Regions from separate parts of the Homo sapiens genome. Here region 1 is linked to region 2. The links are contacts of gene promoters, found by promoter capture Hi-C in blood cells and fetal thymus (Javierre and others, 2016). All regions are on one chromosome and are shown on one strand. The core of a region is centred on a gene start or on the middle of the fragment in contact, and the rest is flanking DNA. Distances in the headings are between cores, read along the strand shown. Region 1 overlaps MOB3B (MOB kinase activator 3B). Region 2 holds the start of B4GALT1 (beta-1,4-galactosyltransferase 1).

What was found. Contacts are between HindIII fragments. The CHiCAGO score rates a contact against its expected background, and 5 or more counts as called.
Region 1: a contact is called between a fragment that was not itself captured here and the fragment with the promoter of B4GALT1 in region 2, in 1 of 17 cell types (M0 macrophages). The highest score is 7.8, in M0 macrophages.

Annotation. Positions count from the first base shown.
Region 1 is chr9:27,459,067-27,466,669 of GRCh38, forward strand. All of the region lies in intron 1 of MOB3B (MOB kinase activator 3B), which reads right to left. Among named protein-coding and RNA genes, the nearest start is that of IFNK, 61 kb to the right of the region's middle. RefSeq lists an enhancer at 6,183-6,684. The HindIII fragment of the contact is 3,767 bases long and covers 3,340-7,106 here.
Region 2 is chr9:33,162,296-33,169,207 of GRCh38, forward strand. It overlaps B4GALT1 (beta-1,4-galactosyltransferase 1), which reads right to left and starts at 5,041. Exons shown (of 6, transcript NM_001497.4): 1 at 4,463-5,041. The coding sequence starts at 4,874. It overlaps B4GALT1-AS1 (B4GALT1 antisense RNA 1), which reads left to right and starts at 4,653. Exons shown (of 3, transcript NR_108110.1): 1 at 4,653-4,751. RefSeq lists enhancers at 1,204-1,703, 4,892-5,457, 5,375-5,474, 5,458-6,022, 5,545-5,624 and 3 more and silencers at 4,793-5,066, 4,825-5,224. The HindIII fragment of the contact is 9,103 bases long and covers 730-6,912 here.

The DNA of each region.
Region 1 (7,603 bases), core at 3,973-6,472, 5.7 Mb before region 2:
CATGCCACTGAACGACAGAACAAAGAGGCACCCATCTGTGTCTTTTCCTGAGTGTGAGATGCCATATTGGCGCAGGTACCTGAGAGTTTTGAAATTAAAAAGGGAACTGTAAATGCACCTGGACTTACTTTCCCAGCCCAGAGCCCCCTTGGGACCCCTGCCCATAATTTATGCTGTGGGCTAATCAAATAGTTAGAACAGTGCTTAGCCAATGTGAACTCAGGGATCTTGTTAAAATGCAGGTTCTGATTAGGCTGGTCTAACAGTCTCCCAGGTGGTACTGAATCTACTGGTCCATGGATGACACTCAAAGCATCAAGGCCTGATCTAACTAAGTGATCTTGTTAGAAATGTAGACTCTCAGGCTTCACCCCAAACCTGGTAGATCTAAGTGTGCATTTTAACAAAATCTCAAAAGTATATGATCTGAGAAGTGCTGGGTTGGAGGGCTGCCTGCCTGGCTGAGTAAAGGAATGAATAAACAAACTTCCATTTATTGTTTTGTCAACAGATTGTTTCATAAACAGTCTTCAGTTGAGTGTGGGTATGTTCGAGAAAAAAAAATGAGAGATACTGTTTTGAATACAATCGCCTTGACAGATGGTGACAATGACCAGGTCTTTTGATCTGGACTGACTTGTATAGCCCAGCACCCAGCACCTAGGAGGTCTCCAGTGAATACCTTTTCATAAATGCCAGGTAGAGGGCAGCTGCTGCTATTGCGGCCTCAAGCAGAAAGGTTTCTTTGGCTGAATAAACTGTAGCACTAGCAACAACACAGTGGTTATTTTCTGTCCTGTTTCAGTCTCCAAAAAAAAAAAAAAAAAAAAAAGTCATAAAGTTTTCCTTCTAAGTAGAAATGGAAAGTAAATTCTATGTCATGAACTGCACCCATGACAATTCTGGTTGTTAATAAATATTTGAAACCAATGGTTCATTTGATCAATAAACATTTACTAAAAGCTTTTTATGTGTCAGACACAGGGCTAGGCACTAAGGACATAGAGTTCATAAAAATGTGGTCCCTGTCTATGAAGAATTCACAATTTGGTATGTAGTTTTGAGGTTAGTTATTGACTTTTGCTTTTAATACTATAAAGTTCAATGCACCAACATGCATACTGATGTGACTCCTTCAGAGTATTACTTAGGTCAGGGATGAAACAGGACAATAAAGGGTGAGGTCTTTGGAAAGAGAAAAACAGAAATCTAAATAAATAGCACAAAACTGACAGAAGTTCCATGTGCTCTCCATATTTTCTGCCTAATAGATCAATTATAACAATAAAACATGTGCACTATAAAAACATGCAGAGAGAATTCGGCTGGGCTGCAAGGGAATGTTGACAAGGTAGCTAAGCAACGCACTGGCAAGGAAAGTTCTAATTTTTCTTTTCCTATTGATGTCTTTTGCCTCATTAGTTGAGAAATCAAAGAGTCCTTGCCAGGGATAAGGAAGAAATAAAACAACTCTCCCAGTCACTCCTGAGAGATCCATCTTCTCTAGCCAGGCCCACCTCTAAGAGACCTTGGTGGTACTGAAGGGTGAGGGGGTTAGGAAAGGAGAGGGACTGAAGCTGATACCAGTTGCAGGAAAGGCAGTTCAATATCTTATCTGTGAGGTGGAGGACTCCTCCTGGCAGGATCAGCTGCCAGGATGATTCATTTCCTATAGGAAGGCCATAAGAGAAATGCCCCAGAAACACCCCGCATGAAGGAGGTTTAGTGTCATCTTCATTGCCAGGCACAGAGCTGACTTAACTGAATGTTTGCTGAATGAATGAGTAAATGACAGTGAATTACGAACATTTTACATCACAGTGAAACCACAAAAGAGGAACCAAAGTGGATCTCCTGTCTTCAGTTATTTGGGGACTCTATGTCAATCTGTAAGCTCACTGCCAACTCACTGAGGCCGCTGGGATACCCTGAAGTAACAAGTCTGCCTCCTGAAAGGACAAGACTTCAGCTCAACTTTTCTTTCAAATGAGCTGCTCCATTCCTCTGTGTTATCTGAAATTCCACCTCTTCAGAATCAAAGAATGACCAGTCTGATTTCTCATTTTCCCACTATATTGTTCTCTTTATAGCTGGAATAGTCCTTGGAATCGTCCTCCCACTTCCCAAATATTGAATTAAAGTAGATTGGGTTTTTATTTTAGAGGGGTGTATGTATGTGTGTATCATAAAATGAACATCGTCTGACCTTTCCAGGATCCAATAAAGGATGTGCCTAAGATGCAATTCCATCAGCCCTTATGCACTGTTTACCTTATGCCTACTTAGTAGGTGCCATCTTTGCCCACAGGACAACCCCAGAATGGAAGAGATTCCTGCCTGAGAAGCAGCTTTGCTATTTTTTTCCCCAACGAATTCAACTCCTCAACTTTGAGCTGTCATATCACTGCATTTTGTTACATTAGTTGGGAGAAACCTTGCTGCCTCATTTTAATCTTCAAAGATATGCATGGTTTCAGAGCTTAGAATGCTCACATTATTTCTGAACACAGATGAAGTTAGTACAAATAGGTGTAACCGTACAGAAGTCTGTCACAGGACTATTCTGCTCATCTTCTAGCTCTTCAATGGTCGTTTGAATTGCATTCTTGCTGTTTCACAGGCTTATTGTTTTGGTCATCAGTGCAGACATTCTAGCATCAAATGTGTAAGTAAATAGTGCCAAAATGAAAGCATTACCTGTAACCTTATACACTGTAGCAGCAGCAACAGCTACAATAGATGAATGCACAGGTGTTTTCAGCAAAAACCTATAATGATTCATCATCATTCAGAAGAGGACACTTAGTGGTGAGAAAGAATGGAAAGAGTAAAAGAAAAGAGTGGGATTTGTTTGGTATGGTTTGAAACATTACCTACTGACAGTCCATGGAACAAAAGACAGAGTTTTAAAAAATGTTTTCTGAAATAAAGAGAATAATGTTCCTTCTGGACACCAGTACCAACTAGCTTAGATTCCCAACAATGACAAAGATGAAGACCTTTTGGTCAAACCTTGGGCAGGGTTGATCCAATCTTACTGCAGTTGTAAAAATAAATAGTAAAGTAAAATTATTACAGGATAAAAGCTCAGATGACCTATTTAATCTTATAAAGATTATAAATCTTATAATGACATCCTACTGATTATACTGATTTTTTTTAAAAGAAAGAGAAACTTCTCTAAGTCAGTGAGAGATTTGGTATATTATTTCCAGATATTTAGACTAGCTGGAAAATATTCATTTTTGTGGCTTAAAGAAAGACACGTGAATTGAAAAAAACAATATCTAAGTCAGGTGAGGGTAGAAGAATGGGGGATGGGATGAGAACTACAGATAAAGCTTAAGTTATAGCTGAAATAAAAAATTAAGGCAGGTAAAAAATGTAAGTATTTTTACTTTTTAAAGCATGAGTGTATATCAGCTGATATGATGTCACTCTGAACCTTGAACGGATATTGAGATAAGTATTTTTACTTTATAAAGCATGGGTGTATATCAGCTGATATGATATCACTCTGAACCTTCAGTGGATACTGGGATAAAGGTCATTGTCAGTTACCCTTTCTTTTTCTTTGAAACAGCGTATGTCAATCCTTTCTTGGAAAAGTCTTAAAGGAAAAAGGTTCAAATTCAAGGAAGTTGGATCCTGTAACTGACAACAGACTTGTTTACTCTTAGCCACTAAGTGAACTTGAGTCTCAAAGTCTGAAAAATTTCTAGCCCTAGCACCATGAGAACTTATGTATGACATCTGGAACCATTGCAAAAGATCTTTGCAGGAAGGTGGAGAACACAAAATGGGCAAGAAGACTGGAAATTCGAAAATACAGTTTGAATTTTCAAAAGATCATAAGTTTAAGTTTGACAGGGGATAGGTAAAATTAACACCAAGAGCAGGCAAGATTAAGAGGCACTAAAGCCCAGTGGCTAACAGCACACAGCTTTTGCAGGGTTGCTGCAAGAATTCAAACAGTTTACGTAAAACACTTAGCATTAGCAAGTACTGAATATAGTATAGTGGTTGTTGCTATCATCATGTTCATCATTTGAATCATATTATGATACAAGTTTTACTAGAGAGTCAGATTCTTGAGAGACCAGTCACCTAGAATCTATCTTAGGATGCCTAAAATTCTAATTATATAATATTAACAATGGTATTTATTAAGGACTTCCTATTTATTTTAGTTTTCACAACCTTATGAATAGGTATTATTATTATTATACCTAATTTACGCTTAAGGAAACTGAGACACAGTGAGATTGAAGCTATATCCTGATCACAGAACCAGTAAGTAGCCAAGCTGACTCCAAACCTCTTACCACCTACTTAAAAGTGCCTCTTTAGACAGTTGGGTAGTTAAAGAAAAAAAACAAAACAGAGGAAGTTCTGGGGTACACCTAAGGGGGTCAGGGAGGAAATGGGAGAAACAGAGACCTAGCCCTATGTACATTGTCATGTGCCACTCCAGAAGAGATCTATTTCTGGAAACTTCGCGGTCTAGATTCAAAAGACCTGGATTCAAATTCTGGCAATGACTTTAGCTGGCTATGTCTTTGAACAGACACTTTTTATGAATCTCAGTTTTGTCTTCTTTAAAGATGATGGTGGCTGGGCACAGTGACTCACGTCTGTAATCCTAACACTTTGGGAAGCTGAGCCAGGCTGATTGCTTGAGCCCAGGAGTTCGAGACCAGCCTAGGCAACATGGCAAAACCTCATCTCTACAAAAAATACAAAAATTAGCCCAGTGGGACACGCCTGTAGTCCCAGCTACTTGGGAGGCTGAGGTGGGAGGATCACCTGAGCCTGGGGATGTCCAGACTGCAGTGAGCCATGATTGCACCACCGTGCTCCAGCCTGGGCAGCAGCATGAGACCCTGTCTCAAAAAAAAGAAAAAAGAAAAAAATAATAAGGATAACGGTTAATGGTGCTTACCTTTATTGTAAGGTTACTGTGAAAATTAGAAGAGATATTGCCAGTGAAAGTGCTTCACAAATGGAAAACAATTATATGGTTATTGACATAGTGACTGATAAAAGAAACTATGACTTTTGACTTAATATCAAGAAATGATGTGAGAAACAGAAAATGATTCAGTTCAATGCAAATGTGTGTTTACGAATAAGAAATAGGCAGGAGGTGGTAGGGGTGGGGGGCACGGTGGCAATGGAAGCCCTGCATAGGAGGAAAGAAAGAAAGAAAATGCTTCATTCTTGCTTAATTTGGGTGGACTTCTAATTCTCAGGCAAAAAGAAATAATATTAACCTCAGTGATTTGATAATGAGTTAACAATATTCCCCAACATTTATAACACACTTACCCTAATATTTTGAGGGAGTTCCAGTATTTTTTTGCATATAATAAATCTAATGCAATATGGCTTATTTCATGAATTTGGGCAAATTATATCCACCATGCCCTCCCACTAATCCCTCAAACACTTTTCAGAATAGCATATAAATACTCTACATTTAACACATTACATTCCTGGTTATAATCCAGTTACAACCTCTGTATTCTGATAACAGAAATGACTTTCTAAACTGTTTAAAAAGTTATTTTTTATATTAGCTCATTTTCATGCTGCTGATAAAGACATACCTGAAAATGGGAACAAAAAGAGGTTTAATTGGACTTACAGTTCCACATGGCTGGGGAGGCCTCAGAATCATGGCGGGAGGTGGAAGACACTTCTTACATGGCAGCAGCAAGAGAAAAATGAGGAAGAAGCAAAAAAAGAGACCCCTGATAAACCCATCAGATCTCGTGAGACTTATTCACTATCACGAGAATAGCATGGGAAAGACTGGCCCCCATGATTCAATTATCTCCCCCTGGGTCCCTGCCATAGCATGTGAGAACTCTGGGAGATATAATTCAAGTTGAGATTTGGGTGGGGACACAGCCAAACCATATCATTCTGCCCCTGGCCCCTCCAAATCTCACGACCTCACATTTCAAAACCAATCATGCCTTCCCAACAGTCACCCAAAGTCTTAACTCATTTCAGCATTAACCCAAAAGTCCATAGTCCAAAGTCTCATCTGAGACAAGGCAAGTCCCTTCCACCTATAAGCCTGCAAAGTCAACAGCAAGCTAGTTAATTCCTAGACACAATGTGCGTACAGGTATTGGGTAAATACAGCTGTTCCAAATGGGAGAAATTGGCCAAAACAAAGGGGTTACAGGGCCCATGCAAGTCCGAAATCCAGCAGGGCAGTCAAATTTTAAAGCTCCAAAATGATCTCCTTTGACTCCAGGTCTGACATCCAGGTCATGCTGCTGCAAGAAGTGGGTTCCCATTATTTTGGGAAGCTCCACCCCTGTGGCTTTGCAGGGTACAGCCTCCCTGCTGGCTGCTTTCATGGGCTGGCATTAAGTGTGTGTGGCTTTTCCAGGTGCACAGTGCAAGCTGTCAGTGGATCTACCATTCTGGGGTCTGGAAGACGATGGCCCTCTTCTTACAGCTCCACCAAGCAGTGCCCCAGTAGGGACTCTGTGTGGGGGCTCCAACCCCACATTTCCCTTCTGCACTGCCCTAGCGGAGGTTCTCCATGAGGGTCCCGCCCCTGCAGCAAACTTTTGCCTGGGTATCCAGGCATGTCCACACATCTTCTGAAATCTAGGGGGAGGTTTCCAAACCTCAATTCTTGACTTCTGTGCACCCACAGGCTCAACACCACGTGGAAACTGCCAAGGCCTGGGGCTTCCACCCTCTGAAGCCACACCCTGAGCTCTACGTTGGCCCTTTCGGCCACAGCTGGAATGGCTGGGACACAGGGCACCAAGTTCCTAGGCTGCATACAGCACGGGGATCCTGGGACCGGCCCACAAAACCACTTTTTCCTGCTGGGCCTCTGGGCCTGTGATGGGTGGGGCAGCCATGAAGATCTCTGACATGGCCTGGAGACATTTTCCCCATGGTCTTAGGGATTAACATTAGGCTCCTTGCTCCTTATGCAGCCGACTTGAATTTCTCCTCAAAAAATGGGTTTTTCTTTTCTACTGCATCGTCAGGCTGCAAATTTTCTGAACTTTTACGCTCTGTTTCTCTTTTAAAACAGAATGCATTTAACAGCACCCAAGTTACCTTCTGAAAGCTTTGCTGCTTAGAAATTTCTTCCGCCAGTTACCCTAAATCATCTCTCTCAAGTTCAAAGTTCCACAAATCTCTAGGGCCACCAGTCTCTTTGCTAAAATATAACAAGAGTCACCTTTGCTCCAGTTCCCAACAAGTTCCTCATCTCCATCTGAGACCACTTCAGCCTGGACCTTATTGTTCACATCACTATCAGCATTTTTGTCAAAGCCATTCAACAAGTCTTTAGGAGGTTCCAAACTTTCCCACATTTTCCTGTCTTCTGAACCCTTCACATTGTTCCAACCTCTGCCTGTTACCCAGTTCCAAAGTCACTTCCACATTTTCGGGTATCTTTTCAGCAACGCCTCACTCTACTGGTACCAATTTACTATATTTGTCCATTTTCATGCTGCTGATAAAAACATACCCAAAACTGGGAAGAAAAAAGGGGTTTAATTGGACTTAGAGTTCCACATGGTTGGGGAGGCCTCAGAATCATAGTGGGAGGCAGAAG
Region 2 (6,912 bases), core at 3,791-6,290:
GGGAGTGATAGGGAAGGGGATAAATACACACTTTGGTTCCCCTAGATGACCTCAGCACTGTTCAATTATGCCTCCCCTGCCTAAATTAAGAGTTCCTGAAGAGGAGGCACTTTGTTTTCTTCTTTGTAGCTCTAGTGCCCAGCATAATACAGGAACACTGCTGGAACTGAAGGAATGAAGTTATCAGATGCCTTAGCCGTCACGGATATCCATACAAGATCACCATACAAGACCCTTCAGATGGACCAAAAGACACACCTTGCAGGGATCTTCTGAAACGCTAGGGCATATCAGGTCACCCCTGAACCTGTGCACTAGCCAACTATTGAATAGTAACCTCCAGGAAGAGCACTAGACAATCCCATCGTGGAATGCTACAGTTCTAAGAAGCTGCAGTTTAAGTCCAATCCCACATTTGGCTCTTACTCCCCATTCCCCAAGGAGTTTCCATTTGGTTCATCAGAGGCTCCACTGCAGGTGGAGGCGGTGCCTTGTGTTTGCTCAAAGTCTGGAATGAATTACAGCAGCCAGGGATCACTCTTATTGCCATAGGCTGTGTCTAAGAAAGCGACCAAGTTTCACCATGAAAGCAAACCAAATAGTCATGGAGGGTATTTCTCAATCTCAGACTGTTAGACAAAGAATGTCTGTGTATACGTCAATACATTATTTTCCACGAAAAAAACAACAGGACAAAACTGGCTTACAAGACTAGTTATCTGAGCCTAAAGCTTCAACCCCCAGGATGAAGCTCCACCCCAAGCCGGAAGGTGATGAGGTTCCAAGGCTCATCCCCAAAAGGGCGAGAGAGAGTCCTTTCCCAAGCCTCAAAGTACACTCTGTCCTGGGCAGCCTGCTTGTGTCCACATGTGTGCATATGAGGGAGGGGGAAACGTGCTGGTAGAGAAACACCTGAGAGCTGAGAGCCCAGCAAAGACCAGCAAGTGCTAGGACACAAACCCTGGCAGACGCTCAGCAACAGCCCCCATAAAAACCAGGGAAACCGGCTCATGAGCAAGTGCTCCTCGGGTGCCCTGGCTACCTGTAGCTGCTGTTTGCTGGTCCAAGTGCCCATCTCTAGATCAGAGTCTTCCCTTTGAACAAATGAAGAGGATCTCCTCAAAGCATAGGTGGGCAAGAGCGGCCTCTGAGGCTTAAGCAGTCTAACACTCACTCCCCTACCCCCCTGAGGGGACTGTACCAACCATCCCAGGCCCCAGCTGAGCCCCCAGGCCAGCCTGCCTCTCTCACCAGTTCAGCTTCAGGTACTGCCCACCTCCCCCCATCACCCTACTCATCTTCAGACTGGCAGTGCCACAGCTGGTCAAGTCCCATTGAGCTGCTGCCCAATCTGAGCAGAGATAAACATGACGGGGGAAGAAGCCCAAGGCCACTGTTCCTCCCATCTCAGCAGGCAAACACCCAGGTGGCCAGAAAAGAGGGCCTCGCTGCAGGGTTATAAGTGGATGCCGCATGGCCCCGCTGAGGACCTGAGACAGGGTTAGGAAAGAAGGATAGCATAGCACCTGCAGGCCTAAACTACCTGGGAGGATTCCCTGGAGAAAGCTGTAGAATCCTCAGGAAAGGCCCCCCTTCCCACTGCATCACTCACTCCTGCAAGCCTCACATTAGCCCAGAGCAGGGTGCCCGGTGTGGGGGCGGGGGGTACTATGGCTCCAAACCTGCAGCCTGCCCCAGGTCACACTAACCCAAGTCTATCTGAAGACTATTCCAAGGCCCTGACAACTCCAACAGCAACCCATCAGCAGTCCAATCCGGTGCCTTATGTCCTCCAGGGAAGGGTTTGCCCATAACCCACACCTGTCAGCTGAGAGGAATCTCAGCATCTGGCCCAGACCCCTGGACACCAGAAAGTAAAGCCAAGTCGGGGAAAGGAACTGCAAGTAGTGAAAAGGCCACAACTCTAAACCCCACGGATGCTTTCTCCCACCAACCTCAAAACCACCCGCAAGGGCTTTGGCTGACACCTGCCCATGAACAGATGGGCTCGACTCCCCCCACCCACACACTCCCAAGGAGACTTTCAGCTTTCTCAAGGCCTCATAGCCAGGAACCTCCATTCTGAGAACTGTACCTAACCACCCAAACCTACAGACCCTATTAAAATGAAGAAAAGACCTCTCGGCCCCCATTTCTGGGGCTGCCTCAGCAGCAGCCTAAACGTCATGGTCTCTTGCATGTCACATGAAAGCAGCCAAAATAGAGAAGGCACTCTCTCCTCGTCCTCCAAAATGTTCTTTCTCAGGAAGTCCTTTCAAGTAGCCAATTATAGTCCATTTAGAAACACCAGTAACTGGTGACAAGCCGATCACTAGCAACACCATTACAAAACAAAACTAAGCAGAGGTATGGTCACGACCTTGTCTCTTACGCTTCTGAGAGAAGATGTGATACTCAAATACCAATGTAATCAACTTTGCGGTACTTTTGTTTAACTTGCTAATTATTTTTTCTTTCTGTGCAATATCCAGGCAACAACTAAAAACAAAAGCAAAAAACCTGGCCTTTTTCTGGCCTGGAGACTCAGTCTCTCTCCCCCTTCACTCTGCTGTGCAGAGCCATTTCTGTGGGAGTCTGAAAAAATGAAACTTTTTAAAGATCCTAAGCAAATATTATTACTATATTATTATTATACGGTGTATTGAGTGCCCGTATTTTTTTTTTTTTTTTTTTTTTTAGACAGTCTTGCTTCGTCGCCCAGGCTGGAGTGTACTGGCACAATCTTGACTCACTGCAACCTCTGCCTCCCAGGTTCAAGCAATTCTCCTGCCTCGGCCTCCTGAGTAGCTGCGATGCCACCACCCCTGGCTAACTTTTTTGTATTTTTGTAGAGATGGGATGGTGTTTCACCATATTGGCCAGGCTGGTCTCAAACTCCTAACCTCAAGTGATCCACTCCCCTCAGCCTCCCAAAGTGCTAGGATTACAGGCGTGAGCCACCATGCCCAGCCTGAGTGCCTGTATTTAATGTACACGATCTCATTTAGTCTTAAAAAAACCCCTGTAAGGTAATCATCGACAACCACATTTTACACAAGGAAGAGATTTTGAGAAACTCGATAGCATGTCTCAAGTCAGACACTTAGCAGCAAGGCAGAGTCCATTTCATTTTATGGGACTAGTCTGCTTCCCAGAATAATCATCAAATGCAAAGGAATTTAATTATCTGCTTAAAAAAACAAGCCCCCATTATTACCACAGTTCACGTCTGACCAATTCCAAGATGTTCTTCCCAAACTTGATATGAACACATTGACGCAATTACTGGCGAAATTGAGCAAGAGTATGTAGTAGCCAGGGCTCTGTGGGAAAGTGACAGAAAACTCCTATTGGCAGGATGTCATCCTGCCTGCCAGGGCCCCTCACTTACAACAATTATCTAAAACCTAGCATTAGAAATGAGAAACCACCTGTGTGGTAACCCTGGAAGCAACCTGTGGTTGCCTTGGGCCTGTGGGCCTGTAGGTTACAGGTCAAAGAGAAGTCCAGACTAGGCTCAGCCAGCTGCTATGAGGAATGCAAACTCACCTACTCAAGCTCTCTGCCTATGCTGAAACAGGCTAGAGGTCAGAGTTCAGATCATCTGGGCAAGATAATTGAGACTCAGGCTGCTACCGGAAGTACCAGAAATGGGCAACGTGGTGTTGACTGGTTATATTTTAGCCCTCTAACACCCAGAGTACACAAGCTCTCTGCCCCTGGGAGAGATCCCTGCTCACCTAGGTTTTGGGTACCCATACCAGGAGGAGGCTAGGGGGAAGGGCTCTCGGTCACGATCCACACAGAGGAAGAAATGAACACACAGTGACAATTTACTGAGGGCTTACCCTCATTAATTAAGCCCTTATTTACCATTGTTCACAATATCTTCCAAAACAACCCCTTGAAAGGGTGACCATTTATTATCCCAGAAGAGAAATATGAGGTTCAGAGAGAAGTCACTTGGCCCAAACGATCAGGAGAAAAACCCACTCAGGAGAGTGGCTCTATGGCAAGACACGTGAACCGAGAGGTCAGTCTCCTTCCCCACCGGGAGCCTCACGTCAGTCCCCAAAAGGGAGTGGATTACTCGAGGTCCCTACCAGAGTTCTCAGTGCAAGGCTGCTCGAAGCCCTAAGCAGACCCAAACTCCAAAACTTCCTGAGCCTCGGGCCACAGCAGGGAAGTCTCCAAGGCCTTCTCTGGTTCTGGGGCTAGAGGGGCCTCGGGACTTCCCTGTGCGGTCCCGGCCCCACGCCTCCAACAGGACTCCCCAGGGACCCACCTCGCAAACCTTCTCTCCCATCCAGTCCCAAGCCTCTGTCTGGGATTTAAAACTCTGATCCAGAAGAGGGAGGCTGGCTGTCGTAGAAGAGCCAGCCTGAGGGAATGTCTGGGGGACCCTGTCGGGGAAATCCGGGGGGGTCCCAATCCTCCGACTGGCGCCGACCCGAGTCCTTACCAAGCAGCGGGGACTCCTCAGGGCAGGCGGGCAGCGACAGTGCGGTGGTGTGGGGCACTGGGACCGAGGTCAAGTTGCTAGCGGGGCCAGGGCCAGAATCCACGACTGGGCTGGAGTCGCCACCCGGGCGCGGCTGGGAGGAGGCGCCTAGAGGAGGCGGCGGCCGGGCCCCTCCGGTCCGGAGCTCCCCGGAGGACTGCCCGATGGCGGCGGCACTGTTCGAGCCGCCCTGCAGCGGTGTGGAGACTCCGACCAGTTGGGGCAGGCGGCTCAGGTCGCGGCCAGCCAGGTAGTAAACGAGGGTGACGCCAAGGTGCAGAGCGCAGACGGCCACGAGCAGGCGGCAGGCCCGCTGTAGGGACGCGCCTGGCATCGCGGCGCTGCCGCTCAGGAGCGGCTCCCGAAGCCTCATCTTCCCGCCGCCGCTTTAAGAAGGGTGTGGGCTACAGGAGGGGAGGCGACCCGCCCGCGGGCCGCCCGCCAGGCGCTGCCCCACAGCGGCGACTAGGGGAGGGCCCGGAGCGGGGGCGGGCGAGCGGCTGAGAGCTGAGACTCCTCCAGCCAGCCAGACCTGGGAGCGGCGAGAAGCCGCCCGAGGCGCCGGCGGAGAGGGGAGGGGCGGGGCCCCGGCGAAGGCGGGGGCGGGGCCGGGCGCGGGGTTTTCTGGACGAGGGCGGGAAGGCGGGGCAGCCCGTGGCGGGATGGGCGCGCTGGGCGGGGCCTCGGGAGGGTGGGCAGCGGGCGGGGCGCCGTCGTGGGGTCCCCGGAGTATGACTGCAGCTCCGACGCTTGGCCGCGCACCGCCCTCTTCCTCCCGAGCCTTTGCGGCGGAGCTTCGGTCGCGTTGAGCCGCGCCTCCTCTTCCTCCTCCACGCTGCCCTCGACAGGCCGCGCCACTTCCTGGGGTGCGAAGGGACTCGGGTGCGAGCCTGGGCCTGCAGCGCGGCGGCGGAGAGAACGGAGAGGACAGCTGGCGGGTGGTTATCTGGAGTGGTTTGGGGCCGCGGCGGCGTTCTGGCCAGTGGGCCTTGGTGGGCTAGGAAGAGAGGCAGAAAAAGGTTACCCAGGAAACGGGCTTCGACGCCGGGCGAGGAGTGGCACGTTCGAAACCCCCTCCCTAACTCAGCCCGGCTGGACCCCGCTGCTTAACGGGGGGTCCTGCGGCAAAGAAAGTGGACGGGTTGCCACTTCTGTGCCTCCCCATCAGGTAGCCTGGGCTATAAGGGGCTCTCAGACCAGCTTGGTTCCAGATGTGTGTGTGGCGGGAGTCCTGTATACTTTGAAGAGGAGAGCAGCAAGAAGCCTCTAACTCCCAGGCCAGCGTGCAGGAGATCAGCCGGCGTTACAGTCTACACTGGGCTACCCACTGTCCCATGAAGTAGCAGTTCTCCCCATGTCGTAGAGTGGGGCCCCGGCAGATTAAGAAACTTTCCTAAGAGCCCACAGCTGGCAAGAGGCAGAATTCTGGCTCCGAAACCCATGTTTTCTACAGGTTTACCCTTTGTTGATTTGCAAGTAAGGGCTGAAGGCTGTGTGGGTGAGAGACTTAGGCACTGAAGCCACTTGACCTCGATTTGACCCAGAGGCCTCAGGCCCTGAGTGAGCAGAGACACCTCACCCCAGAGAAAGACTCATGGAGGTGCTGTCAGTAATGTGGATAGGGAAGTTGAGGGCTCTGGCAGCCAACCATCAGGGAATAACAGTAGCTACCTTATTTTGAGAGTTTGCTGTGTGCCAGTACTATCTGCCATGAAGTAGGTGGTGTTACGGTGTCCATTTCACAGATGAGAAAATAAGGCTTATGAGTTGACACTTTGGTTGTGATCATACAGAATCAACTTTCCTCACTTGACTTCCTGGACACCAGGTCCTTCTGATCTTCCTCACTTCACTGGCCATTTCTGTCTCCTCTCTGGACTTCTTCCCCAGTTGCTGAAGGCCCCAGCCATAGTCCATGATGTTCTTTTGTGTCTACACTTACTGCCTCGGAATGATTTATAATATCCAAATGCTGATCACTGATTTGTCTCCAGCCCAGATCTCTTCCCTGACCTCCAGATTCAACTGCTTATTTTACTGGCATCTCAAACACAATACATCTTGCCCTCAGCAACCTACTCCTTACACACCACTCCCGTTCTTACCTCCCTCAGAGAGTGATACTATTGTTTATTCAGTTCCCCAGAATCTAAAAGGTGTCCTTGATGTGCTTCTCTTGCTCTCAATGCCATTTGCAAGCCCTCAGCCAGCTTTGTCAGTGCTACCTTCAAAACATCAAAATTCACCACCAGCCAACTCTGATGTAACCATCCTCGATCAAGCCACCATCATCTTGCCCTGGGTTATATGGCAGCTACTAATTGGTCACCCTGCTTCCACCTCCTCCATTCCTCCTCCCTAGTCTGTTTTCCACAGAGCATCCAGGAAATCTTTGTAAGCATAAATCAGAT